3 separate regions of the Homo sapiens genome follow, and all the other regions are linked to region 3. The links are contacts of gene promoters, found by promoter capture Hi-C in blood cells and fetal thymus (Javierre and others, 2016). All regions are on one chromosome and are shown on one strand. The core of a region is centred on a gene start or on the middle of the fragment in contact, and the rest is flanking DNA. Distances in the headings are between cores, read along the strand shown. Region 1 overlaps SAMD13 (sterile alpha motif domain containing 13). Region 2 has its middle 34 kb from the start of DNASE2B. Region 3 holds the start of DNASE2B (deoxyribonuclease 2 beta).

Region 1 (2,804 bases), core at 144-2,643, 56 kb before region 3:
ATGTGGGTGAACATCACCTCATCCCATGATGGCCCTAATAGAACAAAAATATGGAGAAACGGTAAATCACTCTGTTTGACCTGAGACAGCCATCATCTCCTGCCCTTGGAAATCAGAGCTTCTGGTTCTCAGGCCTTCAGACTCTGACTGGACTTATATCATCAGCCCCACCTCACCCTCCCATTCTCAGTCTTTCAGACTTGGACTGAATTATACCACTAGCTTTCCTGTTTTCCCAGCATGCAGGTTGGTCATATCTAACCAGTATCTCATTGGTTCTGTTTCTCTGGAGAACCCTAACTAATACACTTTGTCTTCATGGACATTAAGGGAGTTCCTTACAGCCTCTATTTCCTTTGCTAAACAAGAGTCAAGCTCCTCTGCTTGGGGTAGATGGGGATTGGTAGAGATTTAATAAGGAACTGGAGGACAGCAGTGAAGGTTAAGAATGGCCACCAAGGGGAATGGGAGAGGGCAATGACCAAGGATAACAAAAGAACAGTTGAGGTATTCTACTGGCCAGCTGAGATTGGTACACTGCAAATGTGATGTGTTTCATCTTCATGGTTCCTTGATTTTTTTCCCCAGCTGCACTAGGTAGAGGAGTTAGAGAAGCTGGATTGCTGGACTCATCCTGGATGGGGGGTTTGTGGGATGGACACTGCAAAAAGCTAATGGCTTAAGAGGGCTACTTTATAGAGGGCTAATAAAAGAATAGCTCCCTGGTCAATCATTGGGTTCAGACTTGGTATGAAAGAGGAGTCAGAAAGGGACTGATAACCCTGGAGAAAGTGGAGTTGACATAAAAAAAATGGGTTTAATGAGAATGAGGAGTGAGAGACAGATCAGGATATTGGGCTTTCAGTGTTGCAGAGATAGGACTCTTTTGGTTGATGACATGATAAGAAGAGGTTGTAAAAGGAAGGGGAAATTGTAGAAATGGTTGGTGTATTAAAGTAGACCAACAGATATTACCAGTAGTATATAATGGCTTAATTATAGTAGAATTTTATTTCTTGCTCATACAGATAGTCCAAGGTAGCTGGTGGGGATTTTCTGCTTCACTGTCATTCAAAGACCCAGGTGAAGGAGGCCTTGTTATCAGTTAAATAGCTTTCAAGATAATCTGGGCATTGACATAAGTTAGCATAAGGAAAAAGAATAAGAAGACTGTGCAGGTAGTTTTATGGGCCTGAGAGACGCATGCATCATCCCTTCCCATCTCATTGGCCAGAGCTTAGTCACATGGCCACACTAAGTTTCAAAGAAGCCTGGGAAATCTGTAGTTGCGTATCCTGCAAAAAGAGCAACCAGCACCTCCCTTTTTAAAAGCATTTGTTGTTTTGATGCTGCTGCTTAGTTTAGTTCTTAAGTCCAAAGATAAATTTTGAAAAGGCTAACATTGAAAGACCCTTCACAGAATTACAAGAAACTATTTTAAAATTCAGATGGAAGAACAACATCAAAAAAAGCTCATATAGCCAAAACAATCCTAAGCAAAAAGAACAAAGTTGGAGGCATCATGCTACCAGACTTAAAACTATACTGTAAGGCCACAGTAACCAAAACAGCATGGTATTGGTATAAAAACAGACACCTAGACCAATAGAACAGAATGGAGAACTCAGAAATAAGACCACACATCTACAATCATCTGATCTTTGACAAACCTGACAAAAACAAGCAATGGGGAAAAGATTCTCTATTTAATAAATGGTGCTGGGAGAACTGGCTAGCCACATGCAGAAAACTGAAACTAGACCCCTTCCTTACACCTTATACAAAATTAACTCAAGATGGATTAAAACCTTAAATGTAAAACCCCAAACTATAAAAACCCTAGAAGAAAATCTAGGCAATACTATTCAGGACATAGGCATGGACAAAGATTTCATGACGAAAACATCAAAAGCAATTGCAACAAAAGCAAAAATTGACAAATGGGATCTAATTAAACAAAAGAGCTTCTGTACCGCAAAAGAAACTATCATCAGAGTGAACAGGTAACCTATAGCGTGGGAGAAAAATTTTGCAATCTCTCCATCTGACAAAGGTCTAATATCCAGAATCTACAAGGAATTTAAACAAATTTACAAGAAAAAAACAAACAACCCCATTAAAAACTGGGCAAAGGACATGAAAAAACACTTCTCAGAAGAAGACATTAGTGCAGCCAAGAAACATGAAAAAAACTCAACATCACAGATTATTAGGTAAATGCAAATCAAAACCACAATGAGATACCATCTTACACCAGTCAGAATGGCAATTATTAAACAGTCAAGAAACAACAGATGCTGGCAAGGTTGTGGAGAAATAGGAATGCTTTTACACTGTTGGTGTGAATGTAAATTAGTTCAACCATTTTGGAAGACAGTGTGGCAATTCCTCAAAGATCTAGAATCAGGAATACCATTTGATTCAGCAGTCCCATTACTGGGTATATACCCAAAGGAATATAAATCATTCTATCATGAAGATACATGCACATGTCTGTTCATTGCAGCACTATTCACAATAGCAAAGACATGGAATTAACCCAAATGCCCATCAATGATAGACTGGATAAAGAAAACGTGGTACATAGACACCATGGAATGCTGTGAAGCCCTGAAAAGGAATGAGACCATGTCATTTGCAGGGACATGGATGGAGCTGGAAGCCATTATCCTCAGCAAACTAATGCAAGAACAGAAAACCAAACACTGCATGTTCTTACTTGTAAGTGGGAGCTGAAGAATGAGAACACATCGACACAGGGAGGGGAACAACACACACTGGGGCCTGTCAGGGGTGGGTTGGGG
Region 2 (2,821 bases), core at 188-2,687, 34 kb after region 3:
CCAAGTTGTTGCACTGAGAGTGTTGGCCTTCCATGGACTTCTACATTTTACCCAGAAGTGAAAGTCTCATACTCACACTTTAAAAAAAAAATCCCTTGTTATTCCTATCTCAATATTTTGTGCATAATACACAATAACTTGTCATGCGAGTTTTTAATTAATGAATAAAGAGATAATTGCCCCCAGTGAGATAGTAATATTTTACTATGAATTTAATGCTCACCGATAAACAAAATACCTTCAGTTCAAGAAAGAATGTGGGCCGGGCATGGTGGCTCACACCTGTAATCCCAGCACTTTGGGAGGCCAAGGTAGGTGGATCACTTGAGGTCAGGAGTTGGCCTGGCCAGCATGGTGAAACCCTGTCTCTACTAAAAATACAAAAAAATGAGGCAGGCGTGGTGGTGCATGCCTGTAATTTCAGCTACTCAGGAGGCTGAGGCAGAAGAATCGCTTGAACCCAGGCGGCAGAGGTTGCAGTGAGCTGAGATCGAGCCACTGCACTCCAGCCTGGTTGAGAGGGAGACTCACCTCAAAAAACAAAAAGAAAAAAAATGTGGTCCATATTCAATATTCATTTAATTCTTACAATACCTCTTATGTAGGAGTTCCGATAATGATCAGAAGGCTAGAGATAGCTACTATTTACTAAGTACTTATTATGTGCCAAGCACCATGCTAAGTATATATAAAAACTCATTTACATATATTTACATATATTAATTCATTTAAACCCTACAGTAAGCTGGAAGATAGGTATTTCTGTCTTCATTTTCACGAGGAAATCAAGGCTGGGAAAGGTTAAATGACTTGTCTAAGTGCTCAAAGCTGATTAATGGAAGAGCTGGGATTCAAACACAGTATGTCTAGTTCCCAGTCTAGATATTTTTCACTGTACTTCAGCTTTTTGTCAGGTATGATACCACAGTTGTCCTGTAGGATTTAATTAAAATACCTGGAATTCCCCAACTTATACCTTTCCTAAGTACTCCAAAAATATAAAATATAATTATGAAGGAGCTATCCCAAGATGATACTGAAAACACTTACAAGTGGGCAGATGGACTTGGTTGCCTCTTAACGGTAGAAATAGTTTTGCCTTATTTACCTGACATTACATTGCGTGGTCTCAGATTTGGATAGCAATAATAATTTTTAAGATGGATGATTATTTAGGATTAGGGATATGTCTGTAGCCATAGTATCGAGTAACCCTGAACCTCACAGGAATTAAACTTATTACTTGGAATTCATTAGCACCTCACTCTTAACCTCTGAGTTAACTAGCCACAGATCAAATAGATCAAATTGCACTTTATAATGGAATAATATATTATTAAAAATGAAAGCCATTCCATTTGTTTATTAAAAATTCATTACTTAAAAAAAAGGCCTAATGTCACATGTTAAATTATTTGTTGTCATTTGGAAAAAGAGAAAGATTTACTTAAAAAGAACGAGTCAGCCATTTTAGATCCTGAGTGAATAAAATGCATGTTTCTTTGGTGCCAACTAGATTTCCCCTTATTCATCTATTTCTCTTAAAATGCTTGTAGAAATATTTTGATGCAATGCTTCCATTCAGGGTACAAAGGAGATGAAAGAAAAATACTCTGGCAGAGTATTTAATCAGGTATATTATTAGATAAGGATAGCTTTAGTTAAAGCAGCATCTACAGATTAGAATTCCTTCTTTTTAAAATGTTCATGGAAAATAAGTGATATAAACTTCTCTTCACCAAATAAGAATTTTAGGAAATAAAAGATTATCAAAAGAGTCCTGGATTCTTTATTATTTCTGCCTGTAAGCTATTATTATTCTGTAAGTGGGGAAATTACTATAAACTGTCATACTTTCAGAAAGAATTGTCTTCACCTAAACACCTCCTTTATGTGTATAATTATAATATCTCTTATATATGTGTGTATATATATCTTACATATATATAAATATGTGGATTTAGCTACATACACACATATATACATATGTACACATAGGGTATATATGTACTATATATGCCTCTATAGCTTATATATGTCTGAATGTATATGAGCTAAGCTAGGTCTTTTGTGTAAATTATTATATAGACATTTCTTGATATTTCAAGATGCTTCCAAATCCATTTTATAATTTCCTCATCATAAAAGTGTGAGATGTTTATAAGAGAAGAAATCATGGTACAAAGAGTTAAGTTAAACGTTCTGTCCGAGATCACAGAGCAGAAGCCAGATGAGAGCCCGGTTGCCCGATGCTCCCTGTTGACGATGCTGCCACCCTCGCTTGATAGGCTTTGCTCCAGCTGAGTCTGAGAAGGACACCATGTCCCCATTTCAATTTCCTTGAATCAATTCACTCAAACAAAAGGTCACTTTAGACAGAAATCCAGTTTGACTGATTTCTCTCACTGTATTGACTAGTTTAAATAAAATGAGCAAATCAGTGTCTTTATTTCTGTGTCACACAGACATAGCCCATATACTAACCAGGTGCTGTAACACCAGCCTCCACGACACATTTAAAACCCTGTCTTCTGAATTAAATACCTTTCTCTCAAATTAGAAAGTGACTAAAAGGCAGGACAGAAAAAAAAAAAAAAAGATAGCTGATGACCCCTTCCTAAGCAAACATTTTTCAAATACAAAGGCTAAAAAAAAAAAGCTGTGTTTAAAAATTGCAACCACCAGGGAGCAAATGTATCGATCGTGTCATTATTTTTTTCCTCCTCGTTGCTAGGATGTGGTCTATATTAAAAGACAGTTGTTGCCTTGGTGAAAATCTTCCCGGAGCAAAGTGATAGTGCTCCCCCTGCTGACCAAGAAG
Region 3 (2,875 bases), core at 66-2,565:
GGGCAACAAGAGCAAAACTTCATCTCAAAATAATAATAATAATAATACCAATGGAGGAATGGGTAAGAAAAATATTTCTTCATTTAACCTGCAGAAAGCTGTGAATCTACCAAATACAGCATAGTCTTGGCCTCAGGGCAGTGAGTTTCAAACTTTAGGGTACACCAGCATCACCAATAAGCTTATTAAAAATATAGATTCTTGAGCCCAACTGGAAGAATTCTGATGTAGCAGGTTTGGAATAAGTCCTAGAATTCTGCCTTTTTTGCAGGCACCACAGGTAATTGGGCAGGTGGTACAGAGTCCTCCTCCCAAAACTCTGTCTTAGGATAGAGACACAAGCCTTCCCCTTTTCTATGAATCCTGAGAATTGTGAACAGTTCTAGTGCAACCACAGAGGTAATCTGATTTACAAGGGTTCAGTTTGGTCTGGATCCTCTGATCTGGAACTATTATAGTTATCATTGTGATTATCAGAGAGACAGATTAGGGGCAGCATTATTTCCAGGCATGATGTAAACTGCTATTTATTATGATGGCAGCTTTAATAATTGATGCAAAAGTATGCATTAAAGAAATTATTTTCATATGTCTATCTACTCCTTCCCTGATTCACAAAGAAATTGGTCTCACCTTTTTATAGTTGTTATGGTAGTGGGCCATTTTATTTTGGTTTTCTACTTCAGATTCAGCTTCGAGAATGAGAAAGCATAGTTTGGGCAAAATAGATGTTTGTAACATTTTTTATTAACCTGAAGAGTGGGTGATCAATATGTTTACCTATTGCATAGCAGCCTGAAGCACCACATTGAGTGGCTAAAACCAGGAAGATGGAGAGAATATGTAAACATCTTTGGTAAAATACAGTTAAATTTACTGTTACTTTGAAGCAACCCTTTGAAGTATCCCTTAGCAACTGGTTCCTTAAGACAGAGATTATTAAGTGACAGATCCTAATTATTACTAAGACATAAGGTTTTATCATTTCTGTTTAATGTACGAACCACCTGCATTTGCTCTCATTCATTGAGTCAAACAGGAGAAGACATGAAATATATTTAACATCTACTTATTAAAATGAAGTCCCCCTGCCCAATGAATTTCATACAACAATGTTCACTCCAAAGAGTGAACTATCTTTCCCTATTTTTCTGCAGAACTTTTTGATGACTTTGCAAACCAGTCAACAATTCAGCACAAAGGCATCCAGAGTCACGCTGGCATGTTGTGACAGAATCGCACAATTACATGGGATCCATCCCACTCTGAAAATGCCCCGAACAGCGAACAGCACAGGTAAATCAAATCAAACGTCAGAGCCAGCACAGCCTGAGAGCGCCTTGAAACTCAGACTCCACAATCTATGGGGAAAGTGTCCTGCTGTGGCATGAAATAAATGAAACAGAAAATGATGGCAAGACTGCTAAGAACATCCTTTGCTTTGCTCTTCCTTGGCCTCTTTGGGGTGCTGGGGGCAGCAACAATTTCATGCAGAAATGAAGAAGGGAAAGCTGTGGACTGGTAGGTAAATGAAATGGAAGGACTGCTGCATGCAAACAGCCTCGGTACAGAGTTGGCCTGGCTCACTGCGAAGTTCCTAAGGGGAATGTCCATTCTCTTTCCTCCCTTTACAAATAAAGGAAGTTAAAGTGTGCAAATCGGCCAAACTCCCAGGCAGGGGTAGGCTTCTGAGTGACGGAGTTTCCCCCTGAAAAAGAGCTGAGCAGCCCCTCTTGGGCCTGATTCACTGTTCTCAGCGGGGCAAGGCTGGTAGCCACAGAAGTGGGATTGAGCTGACAGCTTCTGTGAGCTGGCAATTTCTTTTAATTACATCATGGCTTTTCCTAACAGAACACTTCCAACATCCTTTGAAAGACTGACAGAGTAAAGAAGGCAGATTATTTTTTTCTGAAAATGGAGCATGTGCTGCTCCTTATGAGAAAGAGAAGGGGGACCTGGTCACACACAGCACTGTTTGCCTAACATCGGTTTGTTTGGAAGCAGAGGCAGCTGTTGCCATGATTGGTACGTAGGCCACTGGCCTGTTGTACAGTGTCAAAGACATTAAATGCTGTGTTGCATTATAGTCATGGGTTCTCCTAAAGCTTTAACTACTTTTTCACCCTTTAATTGGGATATTTAGGTTTGCCATAATGGTTGGTGTCAAGCTTTTTGTGTAAACTTCAGGCTACAGAACACAGATATACTCAAGGCAGTAGTCAGTCTTTCCTCAGTTACTGAGCTCAACAGAGGTCTGTGTGGAGTTTTGAAAATATAAATATGAACGAAACATGGTTCCTACCCTCAAGGACCTCACAGTTATGTGGTAAGGGCATAGGTGGAACACTGGGGAACAGAGAGCCCAGAAAACTTCTCTAAGGATGTAATTTTTGAGCTAAGTTTTAAGAACAATTAAGAAGTAGCTGGAAAAAGAAGGGATGTGCAAGAGCATCTCAGGCCAATGAAGGAGCAATGAGGAGGTAGAGAGGCAAGAAGCAACATGGAAATTTGGGAGTTGCAAAGTAGTTTGGTATTGCTGGAACTTCAGGAGAATACAGGAAGATGACCGGAGGTGAGGTTAGAGAGGTGGGGACAGCCAAGGGGTCTGTGTGCTGAGCTACAAGGTTTGAACTTGACATTGAAAGGGAGCTATTGGAGGACTTCACGCAGGGGTGTGAATGGTCAGATTTGCACTTTAGGAAACCCATTGGCAGTACTATGAGGGCTGGATGGATGGGGAGCAGCCTAGAATCACTGAGACCAGGAGCACTTTTGCAGCATTACAGGTGAGAAGAGGTGTAGACCTGAGTTAAAGAAGCGGTCATGGAAATAGAAAGAAGGACATGCTGAGAAGACTTGGTGATGGATGGGCTGC

Evidence for each region. The method cuts DNA at HindIII sites, captures the fragments that hold promoters and counts their contacts. A CHiCAGO score of 5 or more calls a contact.
Region 1: a fragment that was not itself captured here is called in contact with the fragment with the promoter of DNASE2B in region 3 in 1 of 17 cell types (M0 macrophages); the score reaches 5.1 in M0 macrophages.
Region 2: a contact is called between a fragment that was not itself captured here and the fragment with the promoter of DNASE2B in region 3, in 1 of 17 cell types (M2 macrophages). The highest score is 5.4, in M2 macrophages.

Annotation. Positions count from the first base shown.
Region 1 is chr1:84,340,914-84,343,717 of GRCh38, forward strand. All of the region lies in intron 3 of SAMD13 (sterile alpha motif domain containing 13), which reads left to right. Among named protein-coding and RNA genes, the nearest start is that of SAMD13, 41 kb to the left of the region's middle. The HindIII fragment of the contact is 9,729 bases long and covers 1-2,804 here.
Region 2 is chr1:84,431,179-84,433,999 of GRCh38, forward strand. No RefSeq gene overlaps it. Among named protein-coding and RNA genes, the nearest start is that of DNASE2B, 34 kb to the left of the region's middle. The HindIII fragment of the contact is 4,985 bases long and covers 1-2,821 here.
Region 3 is chr1:84,397,169-84,400,043 of GRCh38, forward strand. It overlaps DNASE2B (deoxyribonuclease 2 beta), which reads left to right and starts at 1,316. Exons shown (of 6, transcript NM_021233.3): 1 at 1,316-1,521. The coding sequence starts at 1,397. The HindIII fragment of the contact is 1,924 bases long and covers 180-2,103 here.